4 separate regions of the Homo sapiens genome follow, and regions 1, 2 and 3 are each linked to region 4. The links are contacts of gene promoters, found by promoter capture Hi-C in blood cells and fetal thymus (Javierre and others, 2016). All regions are on one chromosome and are shown on one strand. The core of a region is centred on a gene start or on the middle of the fragment in contact, and the rest is flanking DNA. Distances in the headings are between cores, read along the strand shown. Region 1 overlaps PLA1A (phospholipase A1 member A). Region 2 overlaps ARHGAP31 (Rho GTPase activating protein 31). Region 3 overlaps ARHGAP31 (Rho GTPase activating protein 31). Region 4 holds the start of POGLUT1 (protein O-glucosyltransferase 1).

Evidence for each region. Contacts are between HindIII fragments. The CHiCAGO score rates a contact against its expected background, and 5 or more counts as called.
Region 1: a contact is called between a fragment that was not itself captured here and the fragment with the promoter of POGLUT1 in region 4, in 1 of 17 cell types (monocytes). The highest score is 6.3, in monocytes.
Region 2: a fragment that was not itself captured here is called in contact with the fragment with the promoter of POGLUT1 in region 4 in 4 of 17 cell types (megakaryocytes, total B cells, naive CD8 T cells and 1 more); the score reaches 5.4 in megakaryocytes.
Region 3: a fragment that was not itself captured here is called in contact with the fragment with the promoter of POGLUT1 in region 4 in 9 of 17 cell types (total CD8 T cells, fetal thymus, megakaryocytes and 6 more); the score reaches 9.2 in total CD8 T cells.

What each region holds. Positions count from the first base shown.
Region 1 is chr3:119,623,231-119,626,138 of GRCh38, reverse strand. PLA1A (phospholipase A1 member A) reads right to left here. Exons shown (of 11, transcript NM_015900.4): 9 at 907-1,015. Among named protein-coding and RNA genes, the nearest start is that of PLA1A, 27 kb to the right of the region's middle. RefSeq lists an enhancer at 1,815-2,014. The HindIII fragment of the contact is 5,078 bases long and covers 1-2,908 here.
Region 2 is chr3:119,323,564-119,326,477 of GRCh38, reverse strand. The region is part of intron 1 of ARHGAP31 (Rho GTPase activating protein 31); the gene reads right to left. Among named protein-coding and RNA genes, the nearest start is that of ARHGAP31-AS1, 2.3 kb to the right of the region's middle. RefSeq lists an enhancer at 2,333-2,914. The HindIII fragment of the contact is 1,357 bases long and covers 580-1,936 here.
Region 3 is chr3:119,296,014-119,298,987 of GRCh38, reverse strand. All of the region lies in intron 1 of ARHGAP31 (Rho GTPase activating protein 31), which reads right to left. It also overlaps the pseudogene RPS26P21. Among named protein-coding and RNA genes, the nearest start is that of ARHGAP31, 3.1 kb to the right of the region's middle. RefSeq lists an enhancer at 1,204-1,273. The HindIII fragment of the contact is 3,536 bases long and covers 1-2,974 here.
Region 4 is chr3:119,467,581-119,470,483 of GRCh38, reverse strand. POGLUT1 (protein O-glucosyltransferase 1) reads right to left here and starts at 1,521. Exons shown (of 11, transcript NM_152305.3): 1 at 1,378-1,521; 2 at 574-664. The coding sequence starts at 1,462. RefSeq lists a silencer at 1,245-1,444 and enhancers at 1,495-1,664, 1,357-1,857. The HindIII fragment of the contact is 3,798 bases long and covers 897-2,903 here.

The DNA of each region.
Region 1 (2,908 bases), core at 34-2,533, 160 kb before region 4:
TCCCTCTAGCCTAGGGTTGTATTGGCTCCTGTTGTGATTAATCTCTGCATTGTGTCCCCATCTCTGTTTTCCAGCTCATCCAACACACTTGTAATGAGTTCACTGTGCTAAATTCCTTCTCTTGGACCTCCTCTGTTTTCCTGACCGGACTCTCACTGAGACAGTGACATTATCTGACAATCTGTCTCCCGCTGGCTTGTGAATAACTAACCGGTTGCTTTTTAAAGAAGCATGCACCATGGCTGCTGACTTCCTATCCCCTGCAGGCTGTGGCTCCCTACAGTTGGGGTTCCTTGCCCTCTCACTTCAAGCGTAGTCCCACCAGCCCCCAAGCCCAAGTCTGCCCCAACAAAGGAAGGGAATGACTACCCCCAGTTTCAGGAATCACCCAGCACCAAGCCCTCCTGGCCGCTAGTCTGGCCCTCAGCTCGCACTCCGTTGCTGACTGACCCTGTGCCTCAGATTCCATTCTGGTAACTGACCCAGAACTGCTCTCCTTTCCCAGGAGTGGGTGCTCTCCAGGCTCTGGCTAGCCCTTCCTGGGCTGGTGACTGAGGCCCTCCTCCCTACTGACATCCCTGATACCCGCACTGTCTGGATTCCAGAGTACTGTTTCCTCTCAGGGACCTGATTCCTATGTCCTCTCCATCTGTTGGGACATGCCATCCCTGCTGCCTGCTTGCCCTGCCTACTCTCATCTGAATCTGCTATACTTGGACCCACTACTGAACAGCTCCTCAGCATGTGTCTGTGGCTGGATCTATAGTAGGTGCTGCCCCCAGCCAAGCCGGCTGGGCCCATGCATCAGCAATCACACAGTCCCTGACCTGGGATGTCCATGTGTGTAAAATGAAAAAGTAACCAACTCCTAAGGGGAGGAGTCAACCAGGTGGGACACTTACGTACATGGTGATCTTAGATGAAGAGGTGATGTTACTGCTAAGGAAGGTAACCTCGATGTTGGTGTCCTTGTTTCTCAGTTCCTTCAAGTGAAACTCCACGAGGCTGTGATGCACTAGGAAACCAAAGCACAACAGAGACTGGCCAGAGGGCAGAAGGTGCAATGGGCAAAAACCCCAGAGAGCAGCAGTGTGGTTGGGAATCTTGGCTCTATCTCTTAGTGGCTGTGTGCCCAGGAGCAGATCACCTATAATCTCAGGTCCTCAGTTTCCTCAAGTGCAAATTGAGGATAATAAAAATAGACACTTGGCTGGGCGCAGTGGTTCACGCCTGTAATCCCAGCACTTTGGGAGGCCGAGGCGAGTGGATCACCTGAGGTCAGGAGTTTGAGACCAGTCTGACCAACATGGTGAAACCCCATCTCTACTAAAAATATAAAAATTAGCCAGGTGTGGTGGCGGGTGCCTGTAATCCCAGCTACTCAGGAGGCTGAGACAGGAGAATCGCTTGAACTCAGGAGGCAGAGTTTGCAGTGAGCAGAAATTGCACCACTGCACTCCAGCCTGGGCGGCAGAGCAAGACTCCGTCTAAAAAAAAAAAAAAATAGATACCCTAGGTCTGAAATAAGTGGGTTAATATGTATGAACTTCTCAGGACAGTGCCTGTGCCTAGGAAGCATTCAGTAATGTTAGTTTTTGTTATTTTGTAATACTAATGTTTTACTTCCCCTTGTTTGCTGACATATTCATGGTGGGATGATCTTGAATGAGCCAAAATGCATCTATCATATACGGCTATCTTTTGTTTGTGTCCCCTCCGAGTTCATGTTTAAACTGAATGCTCTGTGCAACAGTACTGAGAGGTGGGGCCTTTGAGGGAAGGGATTAAGTCATGAAGGCTCTACTATCATGAATGAAATAGTGCCTTATAGAAGGGCTCAAGGGAATTGGCAGGGCCCTTATTTGACCTCCTGCGTTCTGCTGTGTGTGAACACGGTATCTGTCCCCTCTGGAGAATGCAACAGCAAAGCACCTTCTTGGGAGCAGAAAGTGCAACCCTTATAGACATGGAGTGCCGGCGCCTTGATCTGGGACTTCCCAGCCTCTAGAGCTGTGGGAAAATAAATTTCTGAGCTTTGTAAGTTACCCAGTCTCAGGTACTGTGTCATAGTAGCACAAGTAGACTAAGACATAAACTAAAGGTTTAACTCATAAGGTCAGGCGTGGTGGCTCACTCCTGTAATCGCAGCACTTTGGGAGGCCAAGGCGGGTGGATCACCTGAGGTCAGGAGTTTGAGACCAGCCTAGCCAATATGGTGAAACCCTGTCTCTACTAAAAATATAAAAATTAGCCAGGCATGGTGGCAGGCACCTGTAACCCCAGCTACTAAGGAGGCTGAGGCAGGAGAAGCATTTGAACCCGGGAGGCAGAGGTTGCAGTGAGCCGAGATGGTGCCGTTGCATTACAGCCTGGGTGACAAGAGTGAAACTCTGTCTCAAAAAAAAAAAAAAAAAAAAAAAAGAAAGAGAGAATTAACTCATTAAATACAGCAACGGCCCTGCTCCCTCTCCACACACCCAGCGTCAGGGAAGCAGGCTGTGTGTGTAGGAGACTGCTCCTCTCCCTGCAGCCGCTGGTTACCTATGTGGCATCCAGACTCTCCCTTGAGCAGCATGGACACTGGAGCTCTCAAAGTGAGTGTCGCCAACATAGACTGGGTGTACAGCCTGGGCCATGGTGATACCCCTGGGACCTGCTGTCCCTCTGGCAAGAGAAGGTAAGAAAGATTACAGGCCAGGCATAGTGGCTCATGCCTGAAATCCTAGTACTTTGGGAGGCCAAGGTGGGCAGATCACTTGAGCCCAGGAGTTCAAGACCAGCCTGGGCCACATGGCAAGACCCAGTCTCTACAAAAAAACAAAAACAAAAAATTAGTTGGGCATGTGGTGTGTACCTGTAGTCCCAGCTATTTGGGAGGCTGAGGTGGGAGGATCACCTGAGCATGGGA
Region 2 (2,914 bases), core at 9-2,508, 140 kb after region 4:
CTTAAGTTTTAGATCTTACACAATGTCCAAAGCCCACCCAGACTTGTTCTCCTTCACAAAACTCTTCCTGACCACCGAGCACCCAGTGTTTCCTTTTTCTGGATCTGTACAGTAGCACGACACATTCTCAGCTGACTGTACCAGACCCTAATTTTAACAAGATCCACAGGTGATTGAAAATGCACACAAAAATCTGAGCATCGCTGTAGGCCACTTGTCTTCAAATGTGCCTACACACTCTAAAACCCTGGGAATCTTTTTATTATTATTATTACTTTTATTTTTGAGACAGAGTTTTGCTCTTGTTGCCCAGGCTGGAGTGCAATGACATGATCTCAGCTCACTGCAACCTCCGCCTCCTGGGTTCAAGTGATTCTCCTGCCTCAGCCTCCTGAGTAGCTGGGATTACAGGCGCCCACCACCACGCCCGGCTAATGTTTTGCATTTTTAGTAGAGACCGGGTTTCACCATGTTGGCCAGGGTGGTGTTGAACTCCTGACCCTAGGTGATCCACCCGCCTCAGCCTCCCAAAATGCTGGGATTACAGGCGTGAGCCACCGTGCCCAGCCCTGGGAAGCTTTTAAAAATACCAATGCCTAGTTCCACCTTCAGAGATTCTGATTTAATCAGTATGGGTGACAGCTAGGCATCAAAAAAAATTTTTAAAAACTTCCCAGGTGATTCTAATATTAAGCGAAGTTTGAAAATTACTGGTAGCTCCTCTCTCCTTTCCCTGAGTTTCTTCTCGCCACTGTTTTGCCCTAGCTGTCAAACAGCCTGCCTTCAGGCTAAGTCATTTCCGTCCCCCCCTTCCCCCCCAACCCCCGCCATCCCCACCAGGTGGATTCTTGGGTATACAGAACTAGGAGAAGCTAGCTTCCCCTCCACCCTTTCTCCCCTGGTTCAAAGGCTCTGGGACTGGCCCATAGAGGCCTTCCCAGAATACAGGACTGCAACAGTGTGAGTGGGAAGAGGCAGACCCAGGGCAGACTCCCGACCCAGCAGTGTGGCCTTAGGTAAGCCTCCTTGGGCAAGCCACTAAAATATGTTGCCTGTAAAGGGGGAACAACATCTCTGAAATCAGCCTGTAGAGTCACAGCGTCTTGGGAAGATCAACAGAGATGATATGTGAATGTGTTTCTAAAATATTAATGTGCATGACAGCTGCGATGGTTTCCTATCCTAGGACAACCATTTCAAATTTAAAAATCTTCCTTTCCCCTACTTCCCACACAACTAAGTAAGAATTTTAAGCAAAATTTTATCTTAGCATCCAAAAAAGATGAATATGCATGTGTAGTATCTGTGTTGATATAGGTAGGTATGATTCAACAGTTACAGCTTGCTGCATCACTAGTTACTAGAAGGCAGTGATTCTGTGACTTGAAGATATTTTAATTAGCACCAAACACACTGAGAGTGTTCAATAAACATTAACCAATGAGGCCTAATTTAAGACGGCATCATATAAGTCCACACTATGCCACTATTGACATGAGGAGTACTGCTTATTGCTTACCCAAATGACACATTTTCACCTTTTAAGTAAAGTATAGCACCTTCATTTAGCCATTCCGCTGATCTGCAAACTGAGAGACCAAGAGACCTTGGTTTATTCAAAATTGGTTCTCTGTTTTACTAAAAGGAGTCGTCCATTAAAAGTTATGCTCAATACTAAATACCAGTTAGAATAGATACAACTGTGCTGCCTTCACCTACACTAAGGGCTAGGGGTTGAGAGTAGAGAAAGACTCCTCTCCCCACTCTTTGTTTTTCCACGTCTATCCTTAAACATTCTTTGAGGATCTGATTCTCGAAAGGGTTTTTGTTGTTTATGTTTGTTTGTTTGTTTCTTTTAATAGCTACAAATCTCCTTGGGAGGGACAAGGAACCTTGATGTGAACCACATGTGGAATACAGCAATGGTACCCAAGCTTTTTGGATTTCACAGATCAAGTTTAAAAGATTTTGGGGGATCTACCTAGGACTGCTAATTTTTTATTTTTCTGAGAGAGGACATCAACCAACAATAACTATCGTATTTCATAACAGAATGGACAATTCAAAATAACTAAAACTATGAAGCATATAGTCTTAGAATAAAGAATTGTCCTGTTCAAGAAAGGACAAGTGTAACCTTAAAATTGTTATAATACATCCGGATAAATTTATTACATAGATGGCCCTACATTTCCTATGGGTCTGCGGTTGTGAGCCACTGTTCTAGACGGCTAGGAGGGTTTGAAGTGAGTTGAGAACCTTTACTGTCCTGAAGATGGGGTAGGGGCTAGACAAGGGTATATTCTAAAAAGAGGAAAGCGCTACTGTAATAATCTTGCCTAGGATTACATACAGATGGGCATAACAGAGTCCCAGGACTTCACCCCTTCGGTGTAGAGCAGGGATGGCAGGGATGGCAAGAGCCCCACTTAGGATACCTGGAAAAAGAAATCTCCGCAGCAAAGGGTCCTTGTGCTGACTTTTCTTTTTCATTTACGAGTGTACCCTCTGTCTCCTTGGGGGCCCACCTTCTTATTCCCAGCAGGAAAGGGGAAGGGGGAGGACAGGAAATGTGGAAACCGCGTTAACAGCCTGATTGTGAACCAGCACTGCGACTGAGATGCGAGGAGGGAAGGACAAAAGTCCCTCCCTCGCTTTTCAAAAAGTAAGCCACAAAAGTTATAGAAACATTTTCTATTAAACATCATCTCCATTTTGCAGAGAACCTAAGGCTCCGAGGACTTGCCCAGGGCCATACAGCCGGTGAGCCCCAGGGCTCAGCCACAGCCCAGGTAACGAGGACAGGGCTTGCTCCAGCCACCATTGGCTGCCTCTTCGGCCTCCCTCTCTCAGGTGAGACAGTATGTCAGGTGAGGCAACTGAAACAATGTCCCTCAGTTCGGATGCATCCTCC
Region 3 (2,974 bases), core at 1-2,500, 170 kb after region 4:
AGGGCAACACCTGCACATGTAAATCAGGGTGGGAGTGTTTGGTCCTTGCAGGCTTCACGAGATCAATTCCTGACTACCTTGCTGTGAATGGCACAACTCACACAATAATGTAGCTTTACATACAACTTCGGAAGTATATAGGCGGTGAAGACGCTTGCTTCAGAAATGTCCCTGACAGCGGTGGCCTCTACTGTGTTTTGGATGAGGAACTTCTTAATAGCCTTGTCCTTGGGCAGGCATTGGGCGCAGATGGTGCAGCGAACAGGCTGCACGTGGCTGCAGCCCTTTTTGGCACAATCGTCGCCCCTTCTTTTCTTTGTCAGCTTGGAAGCTCGGTATCACTTTTTACCAGGGAGTGGGTAAAATAAACAAAGATTGCTCAGAGGAGCAAGAAAATCCTCAGCCATTAAAGTAAAGCCAACCCAGAGGAAGAAGATAATTTTCCCTATAACTCTCTCTTACTTGTCTCTTGGCTCCTGGCCCCAACCATCTCCAAGCTCTAATAGAAGACCCAGAACACTTGGCATATGAAGGAGAGGTAGGAAACAACCATGGGCACATTATGACCTCGCAGAGCTTCACCCACAACCTCCCAACCACAGACAGCAACATGATGTGGTTTTCGTTATACAGCTGCAAGCAAGGGCCTTCTTATTCAGTGGTCAAGAAAAGAAAAAGAAAACTATACTATTTTCAGCAGCAGCAGTAAGGAAGGGATGATCTCCCTTTATTCCAGACAGGAAGAGAAAGTTAGCTGGTTCCCAGGGGAGAGCTGGGGGTTGGGGGCAGCAGCCACTGTGTTGGAGGGGAAGTGCAAGAGGCTCTTGGCAAGTCTGCCAGGAGCCACTTCATGCCATTCTTGAGTGTTCTTACCTGGCTAAGAGTGTTCATTGCTCCCTTCTTACCAAGTTAGAGAAAAGTGGTCAAAGAAGGGGGAAAATTGGTCCTGGATATCAGGCCCCCCTGTGTAGCCAGTGAGGGGTGATCACAGCAGGGTCTGAAATTGGCATCTATGTAGATACCTGCAGAAATTGCATACACGGTGTGTGTGTGTGTGTGTGTGTGTGTGTGTGTGTGTTTCTAAGGAAAGGGTTTCTGTTTCTCATCAGCTTCCCAAAGATTAAGGTTGACAACTGGCCCTGAGCAATGTCTGCCCTAAGCTGAACACCTATTTGTAAACCACACACCCAGCCTTGTCAGGTTTGTCCAGCTGAAAGTAGCAGGGCTGAGCCTCAGCAAATTACAGAAGCATATGACATTCATTCTGTCTTCAGCCTTTGTCTCTCCAAAGTTCCCACTCAAGCATGTGGCGTCCCCATGTTCAGATGCCCTGAGCATAGCTCATCATCACCCCGCTTTGTCCTCCACTCCAACTCAAGGCTTTCCTTCCCTGTCCAAAGACAGGAGCTCTCTTTGCCTCCCTAAATCTTTGGTCTTCTCCCCTTGTACTCCCAAACCTGAACCTATCTTTCCTCTCAATGCAGGTCTACTGCACCACCTTTGACCTTCAAAGTTCAGTAACCATGATGTCAGTCCAGGGAGCCCTTCTCCAGCCCCCTGGCTCCCAGTTACCACACTGACTTGTCACCCTCAGCATTCTGGGCTGATCTTCCAAGGTGGTGGGCAGAGGGCCAGTTCCCAGCTCAGCTTTTCCTCCCAGAAGCAGAGTCCAGGCCTTGTCTATGAATCAATACATGTTTGGGAGAGTCCACAAAGAAGCAACATTACTTTAGAGAAAACCATTAGCACTGACTTTGTTCATTGATGCTACACTATCACAAATACACAGAAAAAAACCATCCAACTAGTTTTAGCTGAGGGAAAAAATAAATTCTAATTACTCTTATTTCCATAAGCAGTATATTATGCATGTCTAATTTCCGTGTAGCACAATAACAGTGTGTGGATCATTAAGTGGGTCAGTTGCGTTTCCTTTCAAAGCTGAACTCTCATCAGGTATGTTCAGTCTTCAAAGTTTGCTGATCCTGTAGCAGGGCTGTCTGCTTTCAATTTAGGGGGAAAATATCATTAGAAGAGAATGTTGGCTTAGACACAGAAGCCAGGGAGGGCAGAGGAACCTAACAGGCCAGGGAGGGCCCTCCGATCCTTCATGATTAGCTGTACAACCTCAGGCAGGCCAATTTACCCCTCTGGGCTTCTTTTCCCCCTCCCCAGGGTGGGGAACCCGGGGTACTGGTTTGCCATTCTTTTAAGCAGTAGTCTCTGTTTTTTTTTGTCTAAATGAAACATATGCAGAAGCCCAAAATATAAAGCAGGTGAAAGAACAGCTGCCTAAAGCTGCCTTTGACATATCTTCATAGAACCCTGGGGTTCTGGCTCATCCTATAATCTATTAGTTTGTAAGAACGAACAGGGCTGGCAAGCACCCCTATGCAACTCTCACAGATTTGAGGGAGGGGCCAGAATAACACCCGCATGGTGAAAGGTGGCATCCCAGGAGCATTCCTAGTGTACCTGGAGGTTAACTTGAAGGCCCCTGCAAAAATAGGTGAAGAGGAACCTTTCATTGTAAACTTCTGACGATAGTGGTTAAGAGGCATACTTGGAGTTTTCTCACACTCAAAAAAACTCAAACCAAGTGATTTTTATCTCAAATCTACCTCTCCAGATGGTTGGTGAGGATTCAATGAAGTGTTAAGTTATGCATCAATTTCAAAAGAGTCAGTTTTGAAACCTGTGGTTCTCCAAGCTCTAAAATCCTAAGCTATTTGTCCTAATGACACAGCAGACTGAACTCTAGAATACCACAGGAATATCACACCACTGCAAATTACTAGGTGGTGCTGAGTCTCCCAAAACACAGAAGTGAAACAAAAGCATTGCACTGTTTTTGAAATGCATATTCGATATGGACTAATCAAATAGGTTTTGAGATTATTTTCCTGGAGGCAGAATTATTCCGCACGGTTACACAGCCCTTAGTTTTCCCCTTTGTTGTATCTATCTATGTATA
Region 4 (2,903 bases), core at 272-2,771:
CTGCCTCAGCCTCCCGAGTAGCTGGGATTACAGGCACGTGCCATCATGCCCAGCTAATTTTTGTATTTTTAGTAGAGACAGGGTTTCACCATGTTGGCCAGGCTGGTCTCGAAATTCTGACCTCAGGTGATCCACCTGCCTTGGCCTCTCAAAGTGCTGGGATTACAGGCATGAACCACCATGCCCAGCCTGATGTGCATTTTCTAAAGATAACCATCAGGAAATTTAGGACTAGATTCAGCGATAGATGGGTTTATTTCCTCAACAATATTTATCGAGCACGCACTGACAGCTAGCACCAGGGAGACAACAGCAAATAAGACACAGACCCTGACCTCAGGAAGCTTGCAGCCCAGTGGGAAAAACAGATGCACATGCACTGAATCCCGCAGTGAGTCAGTGGTTAGGTTGACACCACCTGAGCCTTTCCCATGCGAGAGCATTTTTATTCCCCAGAAATAGAAAAACATCCTTGCCTTTCTGACCACTGCAACCAAAATCTCTCAAGGATGTTAGAATACTTCCTGTGACAGCAACTAAACTCTCAAAGACACATCAAAGAAAAGAACTCACCCATGGTAGCAGCTGCAGTTTTGACTTGAACATGGTTCGTAATTCTCCAAAGACCTGTTAATTTGGTCAATAAATACTTTCCATTTTGAACCTTTAAAAAGTGAAGTAAATGAGAGTTAAAAAAATTTTCCTGAATGTTATTTGCTGACACCACACCAACAGAAGAAACAGAAGACCAAAACTTTCAGAAATCCCCTTCCCATCCCACTGATGGAAACGAAACGCTAGGGAGGAATTTTTGTGTGTGCAACTCCCACGCTCACGTCAAGTCTGTTCCTCTATCCGGCTGTCAGGTGTCCAAGAAACTGGAAAATTCCCAAGCTTAATGCTCAACCCTCAGAATGCTATGGATAGTGACGCGGACTCTCACTTTCTACTAATCAAATTGAACTCCACAAAGAGGATCAGTTAAAAGCTACAGACATTAAACCCCTCTTCTCTTCTGGCAACGCATATACACACACGCTCGCGCGCACGACATTTGCCCCCATCCCCGACCCCTCAGTGTTTCAGGCAGGTCCAGAGTAGCCAAGCACGGGCCACGCCTCCTGCGGGTGAACGGGGAATTCCCTCTCCTCCCTGTCATTCTGAATTCCGGGGAATGGGTTACTCTCCAGGGTCCAGAGCAGGAGCAGAGACCCCGGCACCTCACTCTCCGCCGCAAGGCGCCCCGGTGCCTTCTGCCCAGCTCCGAGCTACAGCGGCCACGGCATCTTCCCGGGAGCCGGCCGCGCGGGGGAGCGCCTCGGGACTCCGGCCAGACCCCGAGCCCAAGGGGCAGGCTCGGCACTGCCCGGAGCCCACCTGACTCCTTCTGGCGGCCCTGCGCTGAGGGCAGGAGGAACAACAGCAGCCAGAGCCGAAGCGGCGAGCTAGCCCACCACTCCATCGCCGGCAGACCTACTGCAGATTCCCCGCTGCGGCGCTGGCGGAAGCGCGGCCCCGCACAAAGATGGCCCGGGAGCCGCAGCACGTGGGCGGCGGGTCGCCCCGCACAAAGATGGCCACCGTGGCCCCACCACCCTTCCTCCAGTCCCCAGCCTTGAGGCGGAGTTTCCCTGAGAAGGCTGCGCCGGGAAGGTGGGGAGGATAAACGAATGGACCAGTTGCCTATCCTCCCTCCCTGGCACCCCTGGGAAAATAGGTCTGCAGCCAGAAAACTGAAGGTCAGAGAGGGTATGTTTCACGGTTAGTGGCACAACCAAGACTTGGCATAGAGCCTAGGCCAAACAGTTCTTCTCTTGACGTCAAATTGCCTCTTATCAAATAGCATAAATTTGTTGAGCATGTGTGTGTGTGTGTGTGTGTGTGTGTGTGTGTGTGTACAGCACGGTTAGACCCCAAAGGTTGCAATTAGCATAGCAGGGATCCCTTTGTAATAGGAATTTATAACAGTTGGGGTGACTTAGACGTAGGAAAAAAGATCAATGGTGTTAAATAAAGTTTATGGGAGGTCGTTGTTTTGGACAGAACTCTGGCACTAGGCCTCAAGAGAGCAGACAAAACCAGAATGGAGGCAACTTGTCCTAGGTGCTGCGTAATTAAACTCAGCTTTAAAAGGGGTCAGTTTTCCAACAAATAGGAGAAGGGGCCCATATACCTGAGCTGGCATGATAAAGAAGTCCCCTCTGATGTAACTCTTTGAGGAAAGTAACTTCAAAATGACCAATCTGCTTTTTGTTCCTTATTTCTGCTTTCTTCAGCCCTTTTCTGCCTATAAGCCCAACCCCTTCTGCTCAGCTCATTAGAACACTTTTCTGTTTTATAGATGAGATGCTGCCTGATTCATGAATCACTAATAAAAGCCAATTCGATTTTTTTTTTTTTTTGAGACAGAGGACAGTCTAACTCTGTTGCCCAGCCTGGAGTGCAGTGGCACAATCTTGGCTCACTATGACGTCTGCCTCCCGGGTTCAAGCAATTCTTCTGTCTCAGTCTCCCGAGTAGCTGGGATTACAGGAGTGTGTCACCATGCCCGGGTAATTTTTGTATTTTTAGTAAAGACAGGGTTTCACCGTGTTGGCCAGGTTGGTCTCAAACTCCTGACCTCAGGTGATCTGCCCACCTCGGCCTCCCAAAGTGCTGGGATTACAGGCGTGAGCCACCATGCCTGGCCAAGAACTTTAAACTAAATTTGATGAAATTTTGTTTCTTGACAGTGGGCAACATGATACTGGACAATATAGGTATATAGTATAGTACAGGTATATATCTTTATACAGGTATATATAGGTCAGTGTAGATATATTTAGTAATCATAGAACTACAAATATTTATCTATTTTCTTTTTTTTTTTTTTTTTTGAGATGGAGTTTCGCTCTTGTTGCCCA